Regions from separate parts of the Homo sapiens genome. Here all the other regions are linked to region 4. The links are contacts of gene promoters, found by promoter capture Hi-C in blood cells and fetal thymus (Javierre and others, 2016). All regions are on one chromosome and are shown on one strand. The core of a region is centred on a gene start or on the middle of the fragment in contact, and the rest is flanking DNA. Distances in the headings are between cores, read along the strand shown. Region 1 overlaps HDHD5 (haloacid dehalogenase like hydrolase domain containing 5). Region 2 holds the start of IL17RA (interleukin 17 receptor A). Region 3 overlaps CECR2 (CECR2 histone acetyl-lysine reader). Region 4 holds the start of PEX26 (peroxisomal biogenesis factor 26).

What was found. The method cuts DNA at HindIII sites, captures the fragments that hold promoters and counts their contacts. A CHiCAGO score of 5 or more calls a contact.
Region 1: a fragment that was not itself captured here is called in contact with the fragment with the promoter of PEX26 in region 4 in 2 of 17 cell types (total CD8 T cells and fetal thymus); the score reaches 6.3 in total CD8 T cells.
Region 2: a contact is called between the fragment with the promoter of IL17RA here and the fragment with the promoter of PEX26 in region 4, in 4 of 17 cell types (fetal thymus, total CD8 T cells, monocytes and 1 more). The highest score is 7.9, in fetal thymus.
Region 3: a fragment that was not itself captured here is called in contact with the fragment with the promoter of PEX26 in region 4 in 3 of 17 cell types (megakaryocytes, M2 macrophages and endothelial precursors); the score reaches 8.3 in megakaryocytes.

What each region holds. Positions count from the first base shown.
Region 1 is chr22:17,154,323-17,157,022 of GRCh38, reverse strand. The region is part of intron 1 of HDHD5 (haloacid dehalogenase like hydrolase domain containing 5); the gene reads left to right. Among named protein-coding and RNA genes, the nearest start is that of HDHD5, 3.6 kb to the left of the region's middle. The HindIII fragment of the contact is 5,617 bases long and covers 1-2,700 here.
Region 2 is chr22:17,083,686-17,086,385 of GRCh38, reverse strand. It overlaps IL17RA (interleukin 17 receptor A), which reads right to left and starts at 1,386. Exons shown (of 13, transcript NM_014339.7): 1 at 1,157-1,386. The coding sequence starts at 1,294. RefSeq lists silencers at 604-853, 894-993, 1,244-1,363, 1,384-1,603 and an enhancer at 2,157-2,326. The HindIII fragment of the contact is 13,521 bases long and covers 1-2,700 here.
Region 3 is chr22:17,554,333-17,557,131 of GRCh38, reverse strand. CECR2 (CECR2 histone acetyl-lysine reader) reads right to left here. Exons shown (of 19, transcript NM_001290047.2): 19 at 1-2,799. Among named protein-coding and RNA genes, the nearest start is that of SLC25A18, 7.8 kb to the left of the region's middle. The HindIII fragment of the contact is 4,426 bases long and covers 1-2,799 here.
Region 4 is chr22:18,076,674-18,079,548 of GRCh38, reverse strand. It overlaps PEX26 (peroxisomal biogenesis factor 26), which reads right to left and starts at 1,559. Exons shown (of 5, transcript NM_001127649.3): 1 at 943-1,559. The coding sequence starts at 1,172. It overlaps LOC105372853 (a long non-coding RNA gene), which reads right to left. Exons shown (of 6, transcript XR_001755424.2): 6 at 1,653-1,891. RefSeq lists enhancers at 736-785, 1,266-1,495, 1,826-1,885 and a silencer at 1,146-1,195. The HindIII fragment of the contact is 13,258 bases long and covers 1-2,680 here.

The sequences.
Region 1 (2,700 bases), core at 60-2,559, 920 kb after region 4:
CACTGCAACCTCTGCCTCCCAGGTTCAAGTGATTCGCCTGCCTCAGCCTCCCAAGTACGTGGGATTACAGGCGCCTGCCACCACGCCCAGCTAATTTTTGTATTTTTAGTAGAGACGGGGTTTCACTGTGTTGGCCAGGCTGGTCTCGAACTCCTGACCTCATGATCCGCCTGCCTTGGTTTCCCAAAGTATTGGGATTAGAAGCATGAGCCACCGTGCCCAGCCAGCTTTTTTTTTTTTTTTGAGACGGAGTCTCGCTCGCTCTGTTGCCCAGGCTGGAGTGGAGTGGCGTGGTCTCGGCTCACTGCAAGCTCTGCCTCCTGGGTTCACATCATTCTCCTGCCTCAGCCTCCGGAGTAACTGGGAGTATAGGTGCCTGCCACCACGCCTGGCTAATTTTTTGGATTTTTAGTAGAGATGGGGTTTCACTGTGTTAGCCAAGATGGTCTCGATCTCCTAACCTCGTGATCTGCCCTCCTTGGCCTTGCAACATGCTGGGATTACAGGCAGCTTTTTTCTATTAAAAAAAATTACAGGTGTGCACCACCACGCCCGGCTAATTTTTTGTATCTTTGGTAGAGATGGGGTTTCACCATGTTGGCCAGACTGGTCTCGAACTCCTGACCTCATGATACGCCCGCCTTGGCCTCCCAGAGTGCTGGGATTACAGGCGTGAGCCACAGTGCCCTACCTTAAAAAAAATTTTTTTTTTTAACTTTTGTTAAAAATGAAGACACAAACACCTACTAGCCCAGGCCTACATAAGGTCGGGTCAGGTAATTGATATCACTGTCTTCTGCCTTCACACCATGTCCCATTAGAAGGTCTTTAGGGGGCAGTCATATGCATGGAACTGTCATCTGCGATAACAGTGCTTTCTTCTGGATATCTTCTGAAGGACCTCTCTGAGGCTCTTGAGGTGTCACTCTTATCAGAAATATGTCCATTGTGGTTTGCTTGGTTTCTTTTTTTTTGTCATAGGTTTGCTTGTAAACAGATAATGTACCATAAACATTCTTCTCTAGTAATGAAAACCTTTTGGCGTTGGAGTTCATGTTTCAGACTTTTTAAGGAACTTGAGGTCTGTAAAAGCTGCTGAACCCTTCACTGTGAATTTTCTTGGATGTTCTTTTCTTTCTGTGGCTACCTTTTCTCTTGCCTCTTCTTCAGCTATGAGTTCCTGTTCCATTATAATCTTAAGGGACCATTGTATATGCAGTGTGTCATTGACTGAAACATCGTTATGGTGCGTGACTGTATTACCATCTTGCATTAGTGTGGTACATTTGTTATAATTGATGTACACCTTCACTTTTTATGGTACTGGGTGCCTGGTTCTCTGTGTACATCCTGAAGGTTGGGGAGGGGTTGGAGTGATGGGTGAGGGAGCCTTATGGATATTGCTCAATTTTCCTGAAAACTTTGCTGTTCTAAGTAGCAGGGGCTATGGATTCTTATTTTTAAGAAAGCAGATCTTGGGCCGGGCGCGGTGGGTCATGCCTGTAATCCCAGCACTTTGGGAGGCCGCGACGGGCGGATCACGAGGTCAGGAGTTTGAGACCAGCCTGGCCAATATGGTGAAACCCCGTCTCTACTAAAAATATAAAAAATAAGCCAGGTGTGTTGGCGCGCGTCTGTAGTCCCAGCTACTTGGGAGGCTGAGGCAGGAGAATCACTTGAACCCAGGAGGCAGAGGTTGTAGTGAGTCGAGATTGCACCACTGCACTCCAGCCTGGGTGACAGTGAGACTCCGTCTCAAAAAAAACCAACCAAACAAAAAAAAAAAAAAAAGGAAAGCAAATCTTGTGACTGTTTAGGCAATGACCGTTAAAACTATGTATGGTAAATTTTGCAACCATTGTACAAATGAGCTGTTTTTTAACTATGTAAGTTTTCAAAAATTCAAAAATGGGGAATAATATGAACCCCTGTGCCCATCTCCCAGATTGAGCAATGATTAACATTTTTCAACACCTGCTTTGCTTATCTCCCTCCTCCTTTTTTTGTGGCTCTAAGATTTTAAAGTAAATCTCTGATTTCTTGTCATTTCAAACCTAAATTCTTCTGTGTGTACCTCTAAGAAAAATAAGGACATTCTGGCTGGGTGCCATGGCTCACACCTGTAATCTGAGCACTTTGGGAGTTGGAAGGATTACTTGAGCCCAGGAGTTCCAGACCAGCCTGGGCAACATAGGGAGACCCTGTCTCTACAAAAGAAAAAAAAAAAAAAATTAGCCAGGCATGTGGTGGCACATACTTGTAGTCCCAGCTACTTGGGAAGCTGAAGCAGGAGGATCCTTTGAGCTCAGGAGGTTGAGGTTGCAGTGAGCTGAGATGACACTAGTGCACCCAGCCTTGGTGACAGAGTGCGACCCTGTCTTGTCTCAACCAAAAAAAAAAAAAAAAGAAAATAAGGACATTCTGAACATAACCACGATGCCAGTATCATACCTAACAACATTAGTAATTCCTTAATATCACTTAAAATCTAGGCCTTTTAAAAATTTATTTATTTATTTTTTGTTTTTATTTATTTATTTTTTGAGATGGAGTTTCCCTCTTGTTGCCCAGGCTGGAGTGCAACGATGTGATCTTGGCTTACTGCAAACACCATCTCCCGAGTTCAAGCAATTCTGCCTCAGCCTTCCGAGTAGCTGGGATTACAGGCATGTGCCACCACGCCCAGCTAATTTTGTATTT
Region 2 (2,700 bases), core at 137-2,636, 990 kb after region 4:
TTTTTTTTTTTTTCTGCGACATAGTCACTCACCCTCCACCTTCTTTCGGTAAATCCTCCATAAAACTACATAAGGAGAAATATCCCTTTGTTTTACATCCTCTGACTCAGATACTGAGCATTATTCCTTGGGGTCAGCGGTGGAGGTGGAGGTGGAGGTGGAGGGGAGGAAAGATCCCCTCGGGGATGCGGGGAAGAGGAGAGTATATTGTGGAGGGGCACGGCGTTTTGCTCTTTTTTTGTTTTTTTCCTTAAGATGGTCCTGGCTCACAGAAAGGCCACTACCCGGCAGGCGGGTGGGTCACTTCCTGTGGGCGCAGCGGGGCTACGACTTGACAGCTACAAACGTTCGACCCTCCGACTGCGCTCTCACCGGGTTCCCAGACCCAGGTGGTGGTAGTCGGGGGTGGGAGTGGCGGGAAGGGCGCCGTCTTAAGAACCATCTGCCCATCCTCAGGGCTTCGCGCCTCTGGGGAGGTGGCCCTCAGCCGCCCTCGGCAGAGCTCTCCCCGAAACATGGTGCCGCGTCTCAGCGCTCCGGCCCCCGCGTGGCTCTACGACAGCGGGGTCCCTCTGGGGGCCGCGGGTGAGGGACTCCACCTTCCGCACGGACGACGTGGGCTCGCCCGGCTCCGTCGGCGGCATGAAGGGCACGGCTTGAGGGAAGCTCCCGAGGGCGCGATGGGCCTCCCGAGGGCCGACCGTGCCCCGCCGGGGTACGTGAGGGGCGCAAGGCGTGGAGCTGGGTCCAGACCCGTCCTGGCTCCTCCCCGGGCCCCTTCTCCACAGCCCCTTTCTATCAGCCCTGGCCGCCCCTCCGGCCTGGCCCAGCGCCGCGCCCTCCTTCCCCGAACTCCGCGGCCCGGGCGGAGGTGTCACTCCCGCCTCCAGTCACGACGGCGGGCCAGGTTGTGCAACACGCGCCGCGCGATGTGCCACCCACCCCCCCCGTATTCCACACCGCAACTCCCACCGCTCCGAGGGTCCTCCCCAGGCGCCGCGATATCTGTGCCCAAGGCTCTGAGCCCCTCTAAGCCCGCGGCGCGGACTTCCTGCCTCCCCAGCCCGGGCGCGTAGTCCCGACCGTCCGGCCCTCCGCGACCTTGCCCCGCGTCCGCAGCATCCTGGCGGCTACCGCTCCCCACGTCGAGTCTCACCGGCTGGGAGCAGACCAGCGCCCGGTGGTCCAGGAGTCGCAGGGAGGCGCCACCCGGGGCCAGCACGCCCAGGAGCAGCAGGAGCAGCCCCAGCAGGGGCCCCGGGACAGCGGACGGCGGGCTGCGTGCGGCCCCCATGGCCCGGCTGGCGTCGCGGAGGGCTCGGCCCCGGCTGGGGACGCAGCGAACGAACGTTCTGAGGCTTTCTTTTCCGCGGTGGAGTTCGAGTCGGCTCCACTTTGCTCGCTTCCGGCTTCCAGCCCGGGCCCAGGGGCGGGCCGGGCCGAGGGGAGGAGTTTAGTCTGGGACGGGGAGGGGTTTAGGGTGAGACAGGGCCCTCCCCCCGTTCCTCCTTGCGCCCCTCCTCTCGGCCCTACGCTCAGTCCTCCGGGCGTCCCTACCCAGTCCTTCCGGCGTCCCTCCCCGGCCCTCCTCCGCCCGCGCGCCCCAGGTGCGCTCCTCCCGCTGCTCCTGGGCCTGGCCCGTCGCGCCTCCAGTTGCACCCGCGTCGGGCTAGCGTCAACTCCAGCTGGAGCCTCGCCTGCCCCACATGCACCCTCCACCCTGGCCGTGCCGCAGCAACTGTCGATTTTAATCCTCCGCCCCCACTCACTTGATTCTTGGCCCTGTTCAGACTTCTTGCTTCTCTTGTGGGTCACTGGACGTGAAATCCCAACTTGGGATTTCAGGAAGTCCGTTTTCTTAGTCTCTGTCCCTTTTATTTTTGTTTTTTATTTTACTTTATTTTTAGACAGGGTCTCCCTCTGTCTCCCAGGCTGGAGTGCAGTGGTGCAACCGCAGCTCACTGCAGCTTCGGCCTCCCGGGCTCAAGCGATCCTCCTGCCTCTGCCTCCTGAGTAGATGGAAGCGCGGGCCATATCCCATTTTATTGTCCCCACCCCTTTGCCTGGTTCTGCTCGCTCTGCTTTCCTTGGCTTTGCTTTCTCTTTCTCAAGACAAGGACAGCTCCGGGCTCCAGGGAGGATGGGACAGCAGTCACTTCCAGCCTCCTGGCTCGGACTCGGGGACACTTGAGTTCCTGGAGGGCAGGCAACTTACCTGGTCTGTGAGACTGTGTCCCAGCCGCACCTAAGAGAGTCGTTACTTCCCAGAGGCTCACTCCACGGCCGCGGAAGCTGTCGCCAGCGAATTACACATTTCATGAGTCTCCTTCTTAGCACGCGTGCAGCCTGCGTCCTCTCCTCTCCGGACCCTGGAGGACCCTCCCAAGCCGGCCCGCGCTGCCTCTATCCTAGGTTCCTGCTTCGAGCCCGTCCTGCCCTAGTGCATCCACACGCTCCTGCCCATTCGCCTCTCCTCTCTTCCTCCCAAGACCACCACCGTCCGCTTTTCCTTGCCTATCAAGTGCGCCTCTGCCTGGCCTTGACACGCACGGAGTCTACACTCAAGTGGCTTTTCCCTGTATTTTCCACTGCCCTCGAGAGGTGGGTTTTTTCGCTGCCCGAAGCACCCGCTGACCCCCAGCGACATCTCTATGAGCCCCGCCCGCAGACACGACCCAGCTGAATGAAGCCTGAAGCTCA
Region 3 (2,799 bases), core at 26-2,525, 520 kb after region 4:
CGGGATGCAGTAACATTCACCCAAACACTACTGTCCCAAGGGGAAAGTGCGTGAGGCTTGGTGTCCTATGGCTGCACGGCAGAGTCCAACCCAAAAAAGAAATAGGGAGCCCAGCTTTTTCTCACGCAGCAAATGGCAATCACATTCTTTGTGCTATGCAGTGATGTGAGTCCACGAATAAAAGCCTCTGCATTCTCAACCGAAATAAGAAGTATCCTTACTGAAGCTAGTGTCCGGAGAGTCACTGGTGGACACACCACACCCCAGGAGCCCCCGGATTGGGCAGTACATGGCTCACTAATATATGGGACTGATTTTCTGCAATGCGGGTCCATGGAGAATCACAGAGGGTGAACTGACTGACAGACAAAGAAGGGCAACAATGCTAGAAAACCTTCAGCCTTTCCTTTCTATGAAAACCAAGGTTCTCTGCAAGCAGGTTGGGGTTCTTACACTACTCAACTGTCCTTACCTTGTGACTATAGGATTAGGCCTTCCTGTGAAATTTCAAATCAGGTCTTAAGAGCAGTGTAGTATTTACAGATTTGAATGTCCATTAAAAAAAAAAATTGAACCAAGAAGTATGGATTGCAAACTTGTTTCTGACAGCTGTGGTGACTGCAACACTGGGATTTTGTGGGCCTGGGATGGCATCTGCCAGCAGTAGGAATCAGCAAAAATAATATAGTAACTATACAGCAGATAAATGGCATGGGATAATGACACCAAATGCTTAGTCACAAGAAACACTTTCAGGGAACAAGACAGAGTAAATCGACATTTAAAGCTGAGGTCTGACTGAACTGAGGGGCACAAACTGCAGGTCTTAAGGTTTTCACTAAGCCTAACGAAGAGGAGCATGAGAAGGCCTTCTGAGAGCATCTGGCCCGGGCTCAGTGAGAAGATACGAACTGTTGATGAGCAGCTCGTGTGTACGGCCAGGTAAACTAAACCAACCTGATGAAGGCTGGTGATGAAGGAGAGGCGGAGAGGTGGGATGGAAAGTTACGTCAACAAGAATCCTACAGGGTTTGTTCTTATTTATTCTCCACATTCATTCACTGTAACAAATTTCAGCCAATAGCTCCTGCTACCTTTTAACTGAGGGGAAAAAGTAGCTGAATTAAAAACTATTTTTTAATTCTGAGGGGAAAACAAACCCAGAATCCTCCCAAGAAGCTCATCTTTTCTCTTGGGCCTTAGGGACACAAGTTTCTAACTTATTAACAACTCTACTAAAGGTGAGCCATGAGTGTTAAATCAAAGAGATGCAATGGTATTTCCCATTCTCCACGATCTCAGCTATCCCCATCCTCCTGGGGACCACTGAGAGCCGGCACGCTGACAAGGTGACAGTGACCCACAGGGTGAAATGTCCTTCTAGCTTGAGAGCAAACCTTTTCAGGATACCTTACACACTACTTCCTAAATATAACATATCACATAACCATCATTTTCCTAATGGAGAAGATGGCAAATGCATTTGCATCTGCTTTAAGACATTGCATCTGCTTAAGACACTTGGAAAGAGAAGTGCTAGAGGAGGAAGAAAAGGTGAGAAGAAGATCCTGCTTGGGGATGGGTGGGCTAGGGGTTCACAGCAGCTCACGCTCCTGTGGATTCCTGCAACCTTGCAGCTCCAGACAGCTTATAGCAGATCTGCACTTCAAAGACCAGTGAAAGCTCAGGACACTCCCTGGACAATGGACGAAGCACTAGTACCTATAAGGCATGGACACATTCCCACACAGGACGCAGGAAGGCTGACAATTCTGCTGCTGCTGATGTTCTTGTTCACAGTGTTATAATACAGTAGTTCTATTTCCTATTGCTCTTCCTTAATATTTTCTGTCGAAAACCAAGAAGGGAGATTAAGGATAAAGGGATTTACTGACTTTTCCTGTATCGTTCACAGCATCGCTCTAGCAACAGCTGATTGGGGCGGTCACTGGGAGAGAGAGGAGACAGGATTACCTGGAAGAGTGTGCACACAACTGCTCAAGGACCACGAGGGCAGAAGGAAAGGGGGCAATGGCCCAACTGCTGCTTACAGCCACTCCCACCCAGGCCCCTGGGGTAGTCATGGGGAGAGGCCCACAGTGTCAGTGCTCCTGTTAAGGAGAAGTGAGAGGCCTCTGATTCAAACCAGCATTACCAGGAAAAGAGAAAGGCTGTCAGTGGCCAAATTCTCTGGGCCTAGACCAGGTCTAACCAGCTCCAAACTAGCTTTTTACCTCCTCCCTGCTTCTGCACAAACACAGAAACTGAAGTAGTAATGCCCCATGTTAGCGGATACTAGCTAAAGGGCAGACCCATCCACAATCCTTCTGTCCTCTTCACTCTTCTAAACCAGGTTATGCCAGTGATAGGTTTCTAACAAGAATTAGGATCCAGTGAGAACACAGGCTCAAAACTCAATCCACTTGCAAATACATCAAATTTAAAATTAAAACCTCTCTGAGAGAAAATCTGTATTTTTGTGCATTATACCTTAGAGGCACCTGTGTTCCCTACTCAACTCTCAAATCTGCCTGAGCCCTAGGCAGCAGCACCAGGTTCAGCATTTGCGTACGGATATGAACTTCCATCATCCTGGAACTGGTGTCTTGGCTTTCATTTCTCTGTATCATGGATGCTTCCGATTAGCTTCCTTTTCCACGGACAGCATATGTTTAGCAAACTGTAAACACGACAGTTCCATGCTTCACTAGGAATCCTGGAATTGGAGGGAAACACTCTACTGGCCCCTCCCACAGCTGAATTTATAAGAAACTAGGGCAGATTAATATTTCATAGAGA
Region 4 (2,875 bases), core at 310-2,809:
GAGCTGGAACTAAGAGTTTGCTCTGTGAACAAATGGGCTTGGAGCAAGGTTTCTGGCTGAGTGGAGGTATAGACTCCATAGCTGGCTAAAAGGCACCACCTAGTAAGGTTCCTCCAGACACCCAGAAGCAAAGCCTTCTGCATTCACTGAAATGAGCTCCCACCCAGTCCCCTAAAACACAGCCAGGGCTCTCCAGATCATCCTTCTTTGTGGTCAACTTTAGCTATTCTACCTACCACCTCCCTAGCGTGGCCTAACCCAAGTTTACAATGCAAAGAAATGACTCCCTCACCTGCCAGACGAGGCTGGTGGCATTAGAAAGAGCAATGCAAGCCCAAGGTTTTTTTCTCCGGATTCTTTTCTTTTTCTTCTTTTTGGTAGAGAAGAGGGCTCATTATGTTACCCAGGCTGGTCTCGAACTCCTGGGCTCAAGCAATCCTCCTGCCTCGGCCTCCCAAAGTGCTGGGATTACAGGCGTAAGCCCCAGCTCCCGGCCCTGAATTAATTCTTTAATCCAGTCCTCTAATTGGACCAGAACGCTGCTCCTGCCATGACCCCCATTCCCCATCATCAGCCAAGGTCAGGAATAAACAACCTTGGGCGGGGCGGGGAGGGCGGAGGTACCTGGGAGAGGACTTTTACCACCTGCTTACTGACAGAACTTAGCACTTAATACACATTCAGCCTTCCCATCATGTCATTGTACCTTGGAACAAGGAGCAAATAATTGGCTGTGGGATCCCCACTAAGTTTTTGTTACACGACTTCCCTTCTCTGTAGAATGGGCACACGATGAGCGACCACCCTCTCGGAGACAAACCACTGATGAAAGCGAGGTGTAAAGCTCCTTGTGGGCAATCTGGGAAGGACAGAACTCCTGAGACCTTGAGCCCCACCACAAGAGCGCCCGGAAATCGGTTCATTTCCGAGCCCAGCACGTACGTGCCCGCGGGTTCCTCTGCCACGGCGTGGTTGGCCAGACTCTGCCAGGCCCGCTCGCAGGTCTCCAGCGCCGCCCGGAAGTCCAGGTGCACCACCAGGAGGTCGGCCGCCTCCTCCAGAAGGTCCACGGCCGGCGCCCGGGCCGGGACCGCGCGCACCGGCTCGCTGCTGCGCAGGGGTCCCCCGAGCCCCCTGAGGGGGGCTGCAGAGGTCGAAGAATCGCTCTTCATAACGAGTCCGGGTCCAAGGCCCAGGTCCTCAGACGTCGGAGTGACCGCCTCCCCAGAGGCTCCGGGATATCCCGAGTTGGCCTGGGCGAAGAGGGAGAGTCCTCATCTCTTTGCCCACACCCCTTCCCGAGGTCGATTCCCCGAGAAGGAAAAGGAAGGGGCCTATCTGAGGCAAAAGCTGGGCTCGCCTGGAGGCTGGGGAAGCAGTTTACACGTCAGATTTGCAGGATTCTTGCATCCCTGGAATACCTGGCCCTAGCTTCTCCGGCCCCGCGACACGTGCAGGAACTGCCTCAGCTCCGGGCTCCTGGTTACGATCAAAGACTCACCTCGCCTCCCGGCAGCGGGCGCGGACATCTTTGCGCTCGCCCAGCCCCGCAGCCGCGCGGCGTCCCGGCGGCGCGGAGTACTCTAGGAGTTGTAGTTCCTCAGCTCTCGGCCCATCGCCTTCTGTAATGGAAGTAGGAGGCAGAGCGCGGACTACAACCCCCAGCACGCCGCGCCCCGGAAGCCGCCCCTGTGCCGTGAGAAAACAAACTGGTGCTACAGCTTCGGGGTGCGGAAGTCAAAACGAAGCAAAACCGAAGCTGTCTTGTGAAATGGAGGGGTCCTCACTAACCAGTTCCAGCGGAGGCTAACGGAAGAAGTGCCAGCAATGGATGTGCAGCTACATGCACGCTTTTAATTCAGAGCTTCTGCGACGGTGGCGATCAGGGGATCTGTAATGTAATGTAATGTCAAGGCTGACGCAGAGCTGATCAAACATTTTGGCAACCTTAGTCTTGAATTGATTCACACTTTCTCCGCGTTGCCTCCGGAGTTTGCTGTAGGGTAATGAATATTGCCTGGTGAGGATGAGGGACTTAGGGTGGAAACCTTCACAAGGACCACTGAGAATATGTTGGTCCCAAGGGCAATGTTCCAAAATGAATAGTGACCCCACCGAGGCGGGGTTGGGGGCGCTGAGCATAAGGGCCTCATTTTTCTCACTGCTCTCTGCCCCATCCTGAATTTGCTGTTAAAAAACAACGTTAAATGCAGATACCAATTCCACTTCCCCACTGTTGTCACTTCCGATCTGTCTTTATATTTCTCCTTATCATTTATCACCATCTACATACCAATGTCTATATTTTACTTATTTTTATTGTCTATTTCCTTCCACTATGATATAAACTCACAAAGGCAGACGTTTTTGTCTCTTTTGTTCACTGTGGGAACCTCAATGCCTTGAACAGTGCCTGTCATCTATAGGTAGTCAAAAAGTATTTGTGGAATAAATGAAGTCCTGGTTTCACTTTTATCTGGTTACAGGGTCCAGACTTCTCTTTCCTCGGAGTCTGGTGGACTTGGTTCTGCCTCAGCTTCCCATGCAGACTTTTCTGCAAGAGAACGGAAATCCCAGAAGATGGATGTGTGCATGTCTGGTGACAAGGGCAGGGGATGTATGATGTGAGCAGGTGCCTGTTTAATCTAATTTCTAGGAGAGCAAAGATTCTAGGGAAGCTTTGGAGTGAATTCAAAGGGTAGAGAACTGGGGAGAAACTAAAGCCAAGAGGATCTAGTACAAATGTGGGAAGCTTGGCAAAGCCCGGGTGAAACAGAATATAATAATAAGTGTGATTTGTGGATCTGTTTAAAATTATTATTATAGTTACAATTTACCAAATACTCTGTTCCCAGTACTTTACTATAAAGTGCAT